3 separate regions of the Homo sapiens genome follow, and regions 1 and 3 are each linked to region 2. The links are contacts of gene promoters, found by promoter capture Hi-C in blood cells and fetal thymus (Javierre and others, 2016). All regions are on one chromosome and are shown on one strand. Each heading gives the region's core, a stretch centred on a gene start or on the middle of the fragment in contact. The rest is flanking DNA. Distances are from core to core; before and after follow the strand shown. Region 1 holds the start of CHD1L (chromodomain helicase DNA binding protein 1 like). Region 2 has its middle 11 kb from the start of TRQ-CTG4-1. Region 3 holds the start of PRKAB2 (protein kinase AMP-activated non-catalytic subunit beta 2).

Evidence for each region. The method cuts DNA at HindIII sites, captures the fragments that hold promoters and counts their contacts. A CHiCAGO score of 5 or more calls a contact.
Region 1: the fragment with the promoter of CHD1L here is called in contact with a fragment that was not itself captured in region 2 in 1 of 17 cell types (naive CD8 T cells); the score reaches 6.9 in naive CD8 T cells.
Region 3: the fragment with the promoter of PRKAB2 here is called in contact with a fragment that was not itself captured in region 2 in 3 of 17 cell types (naive CD8 T cells, erythroblasts and total B cells); the score reaches 10.4 in naive CD8 T cells.

What each region holds. Positions count from the first base shown.
Region 1 is chr1:147,240,792-147,245,464 of GRCh38, reverse strand. It overlaps CHD1L (chromodomain helicase DNA binding protein 1 like), which reads right to left and starts at 2,781. Exons shown (of 23, transcript NM_004284.6): 1 at 2,635-2,781. The coding sequence starts at 2,761. RefSeq lists a silencer at 2,330-2,949. The HindIII fragment of the contact is 18,027 bases long and covers 1-4,673 here.
Region 2 is chr1:148,251,787-148,256,341 of GRCh38, reverse strand. No RefSeq gene overlaps it. Among named protein-coding and RNA genes, the nearest start is that of TRQ-CTG4-1, 11 kb to the left of the region's middle. The HindIII fragment of the contact is 852 bases long and covers 1,140-1,991 here.
Region 3 is chr1:147,170,282-147,174,428 of GRCh38, reverse strand. It overlaps PRKAB2 (protein kinase AMP-activated non-catalytic subunit beta 2), which reads left to right and starts at 1,959. Exons shown (of 8, transcript NM_005399.5): 1 at 1,959-2,000; 2 at 2,262-2,440. The coding sequence starts at 2,285. It also overlaps a transcript of CHD1L not described here. RefSeq lists silencers at 1,630-1,859, 2,030-2,299. The HindIII fragment of the contact is 16,401 bases long and covers 1-3,969 here.

The sequences.
Region 1 (4,673 bases), core at 1,532-4,031, 1.0 Mb after region 2:
GTATCTACCTCCACGACCTGGAAGCCAGGAACCAACCAGGAGGCCACGGTACTGTCAGCCCCAGGGACCTATCAACGCAGCCACAATCCATGATAACAAAATGAATGCTCTGTACCCTCCCACAGACCCATGAGGTAGTAGCTAAGTGGGAAGCGGAAAATCCAAACCCCTCTGTGTCCTTCCCCTCACTTTCCCCTTCCAAATCTCCCAGTCACGTGCCTGGCTAAAGCCAAGTCACGTTTACAACCAAACTACAGTGGGGTCTGGGAAAGGTAGTCTTTAGCTTTTTAACCTCCAGATGTAGATTCTTTTGCCCTTCTGTCAGGGAGATGACAAGTAGTGAAAAAGCAAGCAAAACAGCAAGAAGTAATAGGTCTGCATATTCCAGAAACAAAAAGGTCCTAAGGTAACTTCATGATCCAAAGATGAATATCCAAATGTCCATCAATATTGGTAACCAAATAAACATTAAATTAAACAATACGATAGCATATTAACTTCTCAAATTAGAAAATACCAGTGTTGCTGAGAGTATAGAGAAATAAGCAAAAATTTTGCATACTCTTTATTCTAGAAATGGTACCTTTCAGGAATTAAACGTCCATACCTATAATAAATATTTGGTTACAAGGATATTTATGTTACTTACAATAGCAAAAAAAAGAACCTAAATACCAAGAAGAGGGACTGTCTAAACTATGGTACATCCATATACTGAAAAACTGTAACCATTAAGAATGATGTTGAAGAAGACTGAATGATAAGGAAAAAAAGTTATGATTTCCCAAAAAAATGTACATGAAACTCCATTTTTCACCTTCCCCCTCCACCAGAAAGTAAAAGAAATTATACAGGATAGAGAACATGTTAACAGTAAGGAGATTATGGAGATTAATATTTATTTTCTTTATGCATAGGCTATTTCCCTGAATGTTTTACTGAAAATACGTACTACTTCTGTAACCAAACGAAAAAAAAGTAGTAAGAATTTTTTTAACCAACTCATGAAGAATAGTTTCTCATAACACTAGTTTATTCTGGTAAACAGAAATAGAAATTACAAGTTATAATATTCAGTAGCCATTCCTTTGACTCTGCTTTTCTATTTTCCTTCTCCACTACCAATTTATCCAAGTTGCCACATTTGCCTACTTAATTCTGAATTTACTCACTCCATTCCATCCACTCAAACTTGCAACCTCTTGTCTCCTCATTTTCACTAAAACACTTGCCCATATGTACGTTTCTCCTGGCATATTATCCACAGCTAAGTATCAACTGGCACACTTTTCTGAGCCCTCTCTCACACAAGTTCTTAAAGAACCATTCCCAACACTTGCAAGGAAATAGGCAAACCCACAAACATAAACTTTCGTTAAGATAAAGTCAAACATAAAAAGACCAGTCTACAAGCTCATACTTAAAACTGGATACATACTCCTTACAGCCACACATTCTTACAGACTCAGGGAATCAAGGAGAGAGGTCTTTCTCTTTCATGTCAGCGTCCTCTCCATTCAACTTCATCTTTCAGTCTTCTAAGCTGAACACAGAATTGCACCTTTTGTTTCATTCCTAGAATGACAAACCTTACTCTTTCGTGGTACTGAGCACTTAAATAAATTAGTTTATACTTTTAAATGCACTCTCACTAGTCTAAAACTCTAGGTAGGAAGGGTCCCTATTTGTTTTGCTCATCTTTGTAGCCAATGCCTAAGAATACGCTCCCAGTAGCATTCAATAAGTAATGAATAAACGACTGTATTATTACTGATGCATGATTCTGTCAATACAGTCAAAGCACACACTACGTTCCCAACTTATAAGTAAGGAAAACGAGGCTGGGGCGGTTCAGCGGCGAGTCAGCGCAGACCCAGGAGGAGAGCGGGGTCTCGGAGCTGCAGGAAGTACGGTCAGCCATGCAGCGGCAGGGCTGGGGGGCATGCAAGGTTCGCGCTTTGCAGACTCTCCGTAAGGGCTAGTGTCAATAAATCGAGTTACGTGCGGTGGTGAGCGGACAAGCTAAGTTGGCATATAGTACGTGGTTCAGTCAGTATTTATGAATGACTCAAGACACAAAAATAGCTTCATAAACAGTGCTTTGCTTGAGTTTGTCCGCTCACTACCGCACGTAACTCGATCCGGAGAATTAATCCGTGGCGAATTCTCCAATAACTGCGCGCGCACAGTAAACGGAGAAGCTGAAGCTGGGAGATGAGTTGATCGTTTTACAGAAGCAACCAATAAACTCCCCAGGCCGGGACCCAAACCCACCGGAACAGCAACTGGAAACCTACATCCTTGGTGCACCAGGCCGTCCAACTCTTCAGCGGAGGCCTGCAGGTGGCGCTGATCTCACCACGTTTCCCCTCCACAGGCCAGGGGCCAGGCCTGGCTACCGGGCCCGCGACCTCATTCATCTGGCGTCCGCCGGCCCCGCGCGCCGCGCAGGCGGGGGCCGTGGCCACCAAGCCCGGGCGCAGTTTCTCTCCGCCCACGGCAGGAGCGAAGGAAGGCCCTGGCGCGAGCGGGTAAACTGCCCACCGGGCGGCCCACCCGCTGCGCCCCCGGCCCGCAAGAGGCAGTCCCAATAGGTTGGCCCGCCTGGCCGAAGTCCGCCCGGAGCCCGCTCACCTGTCAGCCCCCACTGCCGTAAGTCCTGCTCCTGCACCCGCGCCGCCTCGGCTCGGCCCTCAGTATGAAGCCGCAGTAAGAAGCCAGGGGCTTGGCCCCCGCGGCTAGTAGCGCCCGCGCGCTCCATCGGGCCGGTAGAGGCCCCGCCCCGCGCGGCCAAGCGCGCACCTCCCTCCCAACTTCCCAACGCGCGGGGGCGCGCGACTGCGCGCTGGGGCCCACCTACGAGCGAGGCGCCGCCAGAGGGCGCGTCCTGCCAAGATATCCGGAGCGGAGCTGGTGCAGTCACCCTTCCGGACAGGCAGTTCTTGCAGTGCGGAGCGTGGAAGGGCTGCCCAGTTCTCACCAGTCGTGCTTCTGAAGCGCTAGGCGTCTGATCACGCACAGGACGTCTGATTGCCTGAACTGCCCGTCAAGGAGGTGGCATGTGTTCATCATTCATTTATTATTTAATCAACATCGACTATCATGTGTCAGACACTCCGCTGGGCCCTGGGGGTTCTAGAAGTAAGACTTGTTCCGTGCCCTCCAGTGATTCACGATAAGATCAAACTGTTCTTGTTCGGTTTACCTAGTGATAAATTGATTTAGTCCCTGAAATCCCTTTCTTACTGCCTGTGACCTGTAGGCCAAAATTGGGAACCTCTGAATAGTAGTAAATTAAAATCACCAAAGACGTCATTGTGGCAGTGGGTATCTCAAGTGCATTATGGGGAGCAGATTGAGGCAATGTGTTCAGTTAGGGGTCACCGTGACTCAGCATCAGCTTTGAGTGGATTTATGATGTAGTATACCACTAATATAAATATGATAATAACAAAATAGCTGCATTTATTGATGAAGTTCTGGGTGGTGTCCTAAGGGCTTTAAGTATATTTTCTTATTTAACCTTCACAATAACCAATAATTAGGTGTTATAATTGTCCCCACATTGTAAATGAAGATATTGGGACTTGTAATGGTAATTGGCAGTACTGGAACAGGAACGATATTATTCTCTGGCTAATGTCATTAGAATAGTATTCTCATTTAGGTTAATCTTGGTGCTTCCTTCTTCAGTAAACTCATGTTAAATTTGTACCCTCCATTCTCATCTTCCTCTAAAATAAAAGGGAGAAATTTGTTCTGAGCTAGAAAAGGGATGACTTCAGATTGGTTTATTCATAAAAACTCAAGCAAAGCACTGTTTTATGAAGCTATTTTTGTGTCTTGAGTCATTCATAAATACTGACTTTCATGCGCGTCCGTGTGAAGAGACCACCAAACAGGCTTTGTGTGAGCAATAAAGCTGTTTATTTCACCTGGGTGCAGGTGGGCTGAGTCCGAAAAGAGTCAGCGAAGGGAGATAGGGGTGGGGTCGTTTTATAAGATTTGGGTAGGTAAAGGAAAATTACAGTCAAAGGGGGTTTGTTCTGTGGCGGGCAGGAGTGAGAGGTCACAAGGTGCTCGGTAGGGGAGCTTTTTGAGCCAGGATGAACCAGGAAAAGGACTTTCACAAGGTAATGTCATTACTTAAGGCAAAGACGGGCCATTTAAACTTCTTTTGTGGTGGAATGTCATCAGTTAAGGCAGGAACCAGCCATCTGGATGTGTACGTGCAGGTCACAGGGGATATGATGGCTTAGCTTGGGCTCAGAGGCCTGACACTGACTGAATTACATACTATGTGCCAAGCACTCTATGGTACTGAAGATAGAGGCCACTTATCTCCTGGATCTTACATTTTAAAAGGAGGAGACAAGCAATAAATAAAAATCAGGTAGTGAAGGGGTGGCCTGCCCCTCCACACTTGTGGGTATTTCTCGTCGGGTGGAATGAGAGACTTAAGAAAAAAAAGAGACACAGAGACAAAGTATAGAGAAAGAAAAGTGGGCCCAGGGAACCGGCGCTCAGCATACAGAGGACCTGCGCTGGCACCAGCCTCAGTTCCCTTAGTATTTATTGATCATTATCGGGCATTTCTCAGAGAGTGGGATGTGGCAGGACAATAGGGTAATAGTGGAGAGACGGTCAGCATGAAAACATGTGAACAAATGTCT
Region 2 (4,555 bases), core at 316-2,815:
AGTTCAGAGACTTATTGGTCATTTTTGATGGGTTGACCTGGTGAAATAAGAAACCTAGGTTGCTTCTAAAGCATTCCAAAATCACCACCTTCTCCAAATGCATCTCCGTGGTCAGTGTAAATATTAGGCTGACGCGGGAGGATTGACTGAGCCCAGGAGTTCAAGACCAGCCTGGAAACCAAAGTGAGACCTCCTCTCTATAAAAAGTTGAAGAATTAGCCAGGTGTGGTGGCATGCACCTGTGGCCTCATCTACTCGGAGGCTGAGGTGGGGGGATTGCTAGAGCCCAGAAGTTTGAGGCTGTGGTGGGCCATGATGGAGCCACTGCACTCCAGCGTGGGTGACAGAGTGAGAACCTGTTTCAATAAATAAATAAATAAATTATTTTCAACCATTTAAAATATCAATGACAGATTTATTTGGCCTTTTAAGTGCATTGCTAAATTCTCCTCCAATCTACTTCTAAATCTAAAGCAGAGCCTGCTTTAGAAAGAGAAGAGGAAAATGTATTTCAATTTAGAAAAGGGAAGTCTTTTACAATATTCTTAATTCACATTATGGTGAAGCAGTATACACAATAGCAGGCTCCCCTCTTCCTGTGGGTTTTACCTTGAAAGGGGCTGCCAGAACAGAACTTTCAGGGAAGGGGCCAGAGCCCTGGGGACTTTCCTCAGGTGATGGTGATGGAAGAAGAGGCAAGGCAGGACAGGAGGGCTCAGGTAAGGGAGACTATGCAGGTGCAGGGGCAGGAGGAAAAGGAGCAGTTGGAGGCGAAAGAGACAAAGCCTCCTCAATATTTCTCAATTCAGAAAAAGCATCAGATATCCCCAGTTTAAATCCTCAATGGAGGCAATTTTCTCAGTAGTTCTTTTAGAAATTTCTAGGTATCATTGGAAGTAAGTCTCCCATTCAATTTGCCTGATTCTAAAACCAAATTTTTCCAATTGTGTGCCCTAATAAATTATTTTAGTCATTTCAAAAGATCCCCATTTTCTCCATTCTACTTATGAGTTTTTCTGGTTAGGTGGGTCAGGTTTCTTGGATATTTACAAGAGGATGCTTCATAACTGTTATACAGAAACTCAGCTGGTGGTTCTAAACGCGGTTGTTTCTTCAAAGTATGCTCAGATTTTGAAGCTTGATTTCCCATAATTCAGGAGCTTTGCAAAGATGACCAAAATCTGGGATGTGTTTTGGGTCACAGTGTCCTGCTTATGTAGTCACTCCTACAGATATCACCGGAGTTGTGTATCACTGTCTCAGTGGCTCCCACTGTTTCTAACCACCAGGTGGCCACAGAGTGCATCTGCTCTGGGGGACCCATCGCTCATATACCCTCCCATAAGAGCAGGAAAGGGGATTCATAAAGACGTTCTTCTGATGGGGAATGCTCTACGAGGCCGCCTTCACATGGTGAGTAGTGACCGTGACACCTCTGCAGCGTCCCTGGTCACTTGTAGCCCCTGAAAGGGTCATCGGGAGCAGATCACTTCTTTTCTTCAGGGCTGGAGAAAGTACCTCCGTGCATTTTCCAGGTAAGAACTAACAGGGGCCGGGCACATTGGCTTACGCCTGTAATCTCAGCCCTTTGGGAGGCCGAGGTGGGCAGATCACCTGAGGTCAGGAGTTTGAGACCAGCCTGAACAACATGGAGAAACCCTGTATCTACTAAAAACACAAAATTAGTTGGGCGTGGTGGCACGTTTGTAAAACCAGCTACTTGGGAGGCTGAGGCAGGAGAATCACTTGAACCTAGGAGGCGGAGGTTGCGGTGAGCCGAGATCCCGCCATTGCACTCCACCCTGGGCAACAAGAGCAAAACTCCATCTCAAGGAAAAAAAAAAAAACTAACAAGAATTAGTCACAAGTGAAAACCTAAGTTCAAACTTTCATAAAAGCATGCTACAGAAAACAAAACCACCGGTGCCTACCTGCCAATATCTTGACCCAGACCTTCCTGATGAGGGACAGAGGCAGAAAAGGCAGAAGCTTTCCACACAGTCCTTTGCCTGACTGTGACCCAAACTTTCTGTCCTGAGGCAGAGGTGGAAAGGGCAGTTTTTTCCCCCTGAAACTCAAGTCTCTTAACTGGAGGGTAAAGACAGAAAACCTCCATTGTAGAAAGGGAAGGCTGGAAAGGACAACTCAAGCAAACTCCAGGCCTTCAACCAAAGAGTGGGAAGGTCCAGATTTCAGGAGGATTCACCACTTACTGCCCATCTGTTTCTCTGAGTCAGAACGTGAGGATTTCAAAGCTGGCCAGGCACCTAGTCCAGGAGGAATGTGGTCTGAGAGACAAAAATAGATGTCACCTTGTAGACTAAGACAGACTCTAAGGTTAAGAAAACAAGAGTTACCTACGGGTCAAGGATTCAGGGCTGGACTGGCATAGCAACTTCCTAAATTTCTGTGGCTAGAAGAAAAACCACACTCTTGCTAAACTCCTTAACAATAGGAGCTAGCAGGCAAATTGTCAAAATCTTCCCAGCAATTCTCAACTGGATTTACAACCCAGATCACCAGACCTCTGATGGGACAGAGGAGTGCCCTTCCATTCTTTCCTGATAAGCAACTGCAGACCTCAAGCCAGTTTCAGCCATGTTACAGGGACTGCACACAAACCGACTTCATGTCCTATAGTTCACCTTTTGACATAAAGAGCCAATTTCCATCTAATTTTAATGCTAAAATCTCTTCCCAATGTGAAGATGGGGTGCACGTTACATATATGTTTACCCGTTGCACATGAGCTCAACACCCCTCAGAAATGGCGTTTCTCCAAACCTGCTGAATATGTATAACTCCATTGTGTGATACACACCGTGTGAGGCACAAAAACCAACCTGCCCTCTCTCTCTCTCTCTCTGAAGAGAAAGCACCTCTTCAAAGACACACACCGGAGACTGTCTCTTCCTGGACTGCAAACTGATCTCACCAATCAAATTCTTACTACTATGTAGCCACCCTGGAGGCCTTTGAGAGGACAGTCAGATGGTCAGAGATGAGTCGCTCTGCATTCTGCTCCCTGGGCCAAAAACGTCGACCTAGAAGGAAGGGGCTTAAGCACAAACATGATTTAAAAAGTTTGTTTGAGCCAATGTGAGGACACTTGCCTGGAAGACTCAGATCCAAGCAATCTTGGATGTGGGCTCCATTTGCCCTTTGTTACAAGCAGGTTTCTAAAGACCAAAAAGGGAGACGGGGAGTTGGCTGGTACAAAATTGCCTGTCAGGAACTCCCTGAAGTTTACAGAAATAACATTGATTAATGATTAGCTATACATTGTTCAGCTACAGGGAGTGAGAGATGGTGTCCAGTGCAGCATGTTTAGGTTGCTTTATAGCCACTTGTGATGATAGCAAGCTGTTTTAATAGATGAATACACGGCTTCAAAACAGGGACATAAGACGTTGTTGCTGTCTCATTTTAATGCCTAACTCTGGGCTTGTTAATTTGAAAGCACTCACTTTCCTCACATAAAATTTCTTTTCTTTCCTCAGACATTTGAATTCTTTATAGTTTAGGAATATTTTGAATAAATATGTATTTGTTTTACATGTCTTTGGTAAACCATATTCACGTTTCTCTAGAAATAGAAATTCCAATAGAAATATAATGCCAGGCATATACGTACTTTTAAATGTATTAGTAGACATGTTTTAAAAAGTAAAAAGAAAGAGGTGAAATTATTTTTTATAATATATATTCAACTAAATATATTTAAGGTATTATCATTACCCCATGTGACACTAGCAAGATTTCAAGTGTTCAATAGCTACCCGTGGTTTGTGGCTATCATATTGGAAAGCACAAGTCTATGGGGTAGAAAAGTTGAATTTCTGGGTCATAGCATATATGTATGTGTGTTTTACCACTAGAATATACAGGCAAACAATTTTCCAAAGTTTTTGAACTTATTTATACTCTTGCCAGAAATGAATAGAAGATTATAACGCTTCCGTTGTGCCAAAATCTGGGAATGTCTTTTTTTTTAAGTCAAGTTTACTGAGGTATAATTAAAACTCACCAGCGTTACATGTTGTACGTGGTTCTCAGTGATATACTCTCTTTGCAAAGCTGGCTTTTGGTGGTAGCTTTGATTTAAAAGCTAATGCCACGTAAAAAAATTCAATACGTAGGGCCAGGCGAGGTGGCTCATGCCTGTAATTCTAGCACTTTGGAAGGATGAGGTGGACGGATCACTTGAGGTCAGGGGTTTGAGATCAGCCTGGCCAAAATGGTGAAACCCCATTTCTACTAAAAATACAAAAATTAGCCAGGTGTGGTGGGGGGAACCTATAGTCTCAGCTACTTGGGAGACTGAGGCAGGAGGATCATCTGAGCTCTGGAGGCTGAAGTTTCAGTGAGCTATCATTGCACCACTGCAGTCCAGCCTTGGTGACAGAGTGAGACTCTGTCTCAAAAACAGAAAAAAAATGTATATATATATATATGTGTGTGTGTGTGTGTGTGTGTGTGTGTATATGTATATATATACACACACACATATATATATACACACATATATATGTTGTGAACTCAACAAGCAACACTA
Region 3 (4,147 bases), core at 710-3,209, 1.1 Mb after region 2:
GACTACTGCAAGGAAATACATACCAAGGACATATTATTTGGCATGGTGAAACCACCTTGGGGTCAGAAAACTGAATACTACACAAGTCAAGGTTTAATGTATTATGTATCTTCAAGGGCCTTGCTTCAGTGTCCTATGGTAAGGAATTGAGGGGTGGAGGGAGAAAAGTAGGGATAACCAAAAAGCATGTACTCAGACATAAAGATTTTGGAGGGGTGAGCAAGAAGTTGCAGTAAAATCGTACCTTTTTTTTTTCTTCCTGTAAACTGTCTTTGGTTTATGAGCCAAAGAATGAGTTTATAAGAGGCAGAGCAAAGAATAGGGGAGTAGTGAATTTGTTGTACTTAAGTGGGATGTCAACTTCATAATATAAAAATGAACGTTTCAGCAAATAGAGCTGCTCACTCAGAAAGGGTGGCCTATGTAACTTGGGGTTCCCCATCATTGGCCGTGTTTAAGCCTAAGTGGCATATCTGGTTAGAAATGGATTACAGTAAACAGTATTCCTGTATCCTTCATTCCGCAAATGCAAAAGCCTACTCTGTATAAGGTACATGCAGAATATGAAAAGGTATCAAATCTGGATCTGCTCTCTGCCAGCTGTCAAAGCATTGCTTCTCACACACTTTAATGTGATCTTGTTAAAATGCAGATTCAGAACCCTGGGGATGGGGCCTGATTCTGCATTTCTAACAGGCTCCCAGTTGACGCCAACACTGCTGGTCTGTGTAACACAGAGTGATAAACGTTTCTAGAAGGAGACATGCAAATACTTATAATACAAAGGTAAGTACCTTAGGGATTCCACTAATTTTCATAAAAAACCTGGATCCCTCCCAACCCTAGGGCTGTCTTTGCCCTTTTTATACCTTTAGTGTTCCTTCTGATGTTTTCGTTGTTGCTATCTTCCTTGAATTTTATTTCTTCTGAGGTTTCTCACTGTGTATGCTGTTTCTTAGCCTAGGAGAGCCTTTTCGTTCTTCTCCTAAGACTAACATTTTACTAATTTGTCAAGGAGCTAGAGCTCCTAAACACGCCATCTTGAATTCTTCCCTGCGACCCCAGTCGGGCTGAAAGCTCCTTCCTTGTCGCTCCCCACTGAACAGATTTTTCTTGGGGCGGGGAGAGGGGGACGGAGTATCGCTGAGTCGCCAGGCTGGAGTGCAATGGCGCGATCTCGGCTCACCGCAACCTCCGCCTCCCGGGTTCAAGCGATTCTTCTGCCTCATCCTCCCAAGTAGCTGGGACTTCCGGCGCGCGCCACCACGCCCAGCTAATTTTTGTATTTTTAGTAGAGCCGGGGTTTCACCTTGTTGGCCAGGATGGTCTTGATCTCCTGACTTCGTGATCTGCTCGCCTCAGCCTCCCAAAGTGCTGGGAATACAGGCGTGAGCCACTGCGCCCGGTCAGAACAGTTTTAACCTCCAGCAATGACCACTGCTTCCTTCTGCCTGCAGTTGGAAGTCAGTTTCAGTTTTCTTATTCCCTATAAGGAACCCACCTCTCCGGTCGCCTAACACACAGATGCTGCCCAGAAAACGTGCTGGCGCACCTGAGGCGGGGTAGAAAGCCGTGCCGCTCCTCCCGGCACCGAGCACCGGAGCCCAGGGAGGCGGCCTCCGAGTGTCATTTGGGGACGTCCCTTCTGCCGGGTAGTCTCAGAGGCCAAGCGCTCCTATTATCCCGGGCGCAGTCTCCCCAGGCGGGACAGGCCCTGCCTGGCGCCCCCTCCTGGCGCTGGAGGCTGCGTGCGACTGCCCACCATCGAGGCGGCGGCGGCGGCGGCTAGAGAGGCCGGCGGGTCCCGGGCGCCGAGGCTGCAGGCCGCAGGGAACGCGCACTGGGCGGACTCCGCGCCGCCGGCCTTGTAGCCATTTTAGGAGGAATCGCTGGTCGCCAGCGAGGGGTGCGGCTTCAATTTCAATAACTTTATTGGTGGCCTGATCTGCAGAACAGCCATCACATCAGTGGCCCTTGGAGGAGGGAGCGCATCGCCCGAGGTGACTGGAGTGGGGGCGCCCCTGGCAGTGAGCGCGGGGACGCGGGGGAGGTCCCGATAGCGGGTTTCCTGAGCTAGGGCCAGTGAGGGCACCGGGGTATTTGCAGGCGTTCCCGCAGGCCAGGAGGGAGAGGGCTCCAGGGCTCGGCTTCCCTGGGGCGGGGAATCCCTTGCCCTGTCCCGAGGCGCAGGGGCGGGGCCGGGGGGCGCCCCTGACGCGGCGGCTGAGGTGTTCCCAGCCCGGTGTCGTTCCCCGCGGTAGGTGGTCCCCGACGAGCTGCAGCCATGGGAAACACCACCAGCGACCGGGTGTCCGGGGAGCGCCACGGCGCCAAGGCTGCACGCTCCGAGGGCGCAGGCGGCCATGCCCCGGGGAAGGAGCACAAGATCATGGTGGGGAGTACGGACGACCCCAGCGTGTTCAGCCTCCCTGACTCCAAGGTAAGCGTCCCATGCCCGCAGTTGGTGTCAGTACTGCAGCGGGTTGATTTCTGGGCTCCTCTTCCCTTTCTTGGTTCTTTTCTACCGCGCCGAACCGGGCTATGGTTTTTTGAATTAAAGGGATTTATCGGGGACAGAGGTGTTGGATGATAATTCCTCTTGAAGTGCCGCCTCAAAATAGGATAAAGAGGCGGAGTTCTTGCTTTCCTGGTGTTCTGACTAATCTGTTGGCCACATTTTTAGGATGGGGACAATAGACATCCCCCCATCCCCGATCCTCCGAGCACGAATGGCTCTCTTCCATAGCGTTGCTGAATTTGTAGTTTGTAATCCCTGGTGGACAACTTCAGAGGGTAGGTTGCACGAGTTGCTGACCATAGGTGGTAGTTTCTCACCTTTGCCCTGAGGTGGCTAAATGAAATTCTTTTTCTGAAAATTTCTATGTATCAGTATCATTTTTGCTCTTCTAGCAGCTCTACAGTTGTGATCCTCTTCCCTTTTGGCACGGCTGTAAGCAGCAACTACTTGCTTATTGAATACTTTCTCCTAGTCTTGGGGATCAATTAAGGACATCATTTAGTTGACTGCTTAATTTTTGTCCCATACTTTATAGTTGTGGTGGCTGAGGCTGTGCCTCTTTCACGCCCCGCTGCTGCTCCGTAGGTGGAAGAGCCAATGATTCCACGACTTGTTTACTCCTCAGTAGTACTTCAAAATGTTGCGTGGCTAAAAAAACGACAACCCACAGCTGCCCTGAAGACCTTGCTCTCAATTCCAAGGACTTTCAGGAAGAGAACAACTTGTTTTCACTCTGTAAGAAAGGACAGATGGAGCTGATAGCAGCGATTACCATTCTAATGTTTCTAATGGCTTTCAGAGCTGTCAGCATGAAATACAAGTAATTCCTCCAGGTAGACTGACTGGATGAGATAGAAAAATGGAGGGCTTGAGGAGATTCGGGTGTGTTTGATGTTTCCTATCATTTCATCACTTCCCAGGGAACTGGGGCTTTAGAGAGTGAATAGAGTATTGTTTGCCATATTGGTAGCACATGGAATTTGGATTCCATGATTTATTTCTTTGGATCTCAATTGATAACATCATCACAGCCTGGCGCAGAGGCTCACGCCTGTAATCCCAGCACTTTGGGAGGCCGAGGCGGTTGGATCATTTGAGGTCAGGTGTTCGAGACCAGCCTGACCAACATGGTGAAACCCCGTCTCTACTAAAAATACAGAAAAAGTAGCCGGGCATGCTGGTGCATGCCTGTAGTCCCAGCTACTCGGGAGGCTGAGGCAGGAGAATCGCTTGAACCCGGGAGGCGGTGGTTGCAGTGAGTTTAGATCAAACCACTGCACTCCAGCCTGGGTGACAGACTCTCAAAACAAAAAAACAAAAAAACAAAAAAACCAACCATAATCACAGAGAAGTGAGAGTGATTAAAAGGAGCACTTATTGGGGTTTATTCTCCAATTCTCCATTCTTATTTGGGCTATCTACAAGCCATCTGAATTTACTTCTTCAAAGCTTTCGAAAGGTGATCCGCCTCATTATATTTTTACCCTTTTCCTATGTTGATGACTCAGGATTTAAATACAGTGTATTTGTCGAACTGTGACTGCAGTAATTGGTGTCCTGATTAAAAGCCAGGTTGCTCTGTCTGAATTGGGGCCTATTTTGTATTATTCTTATCTCTCACCTCAGTCT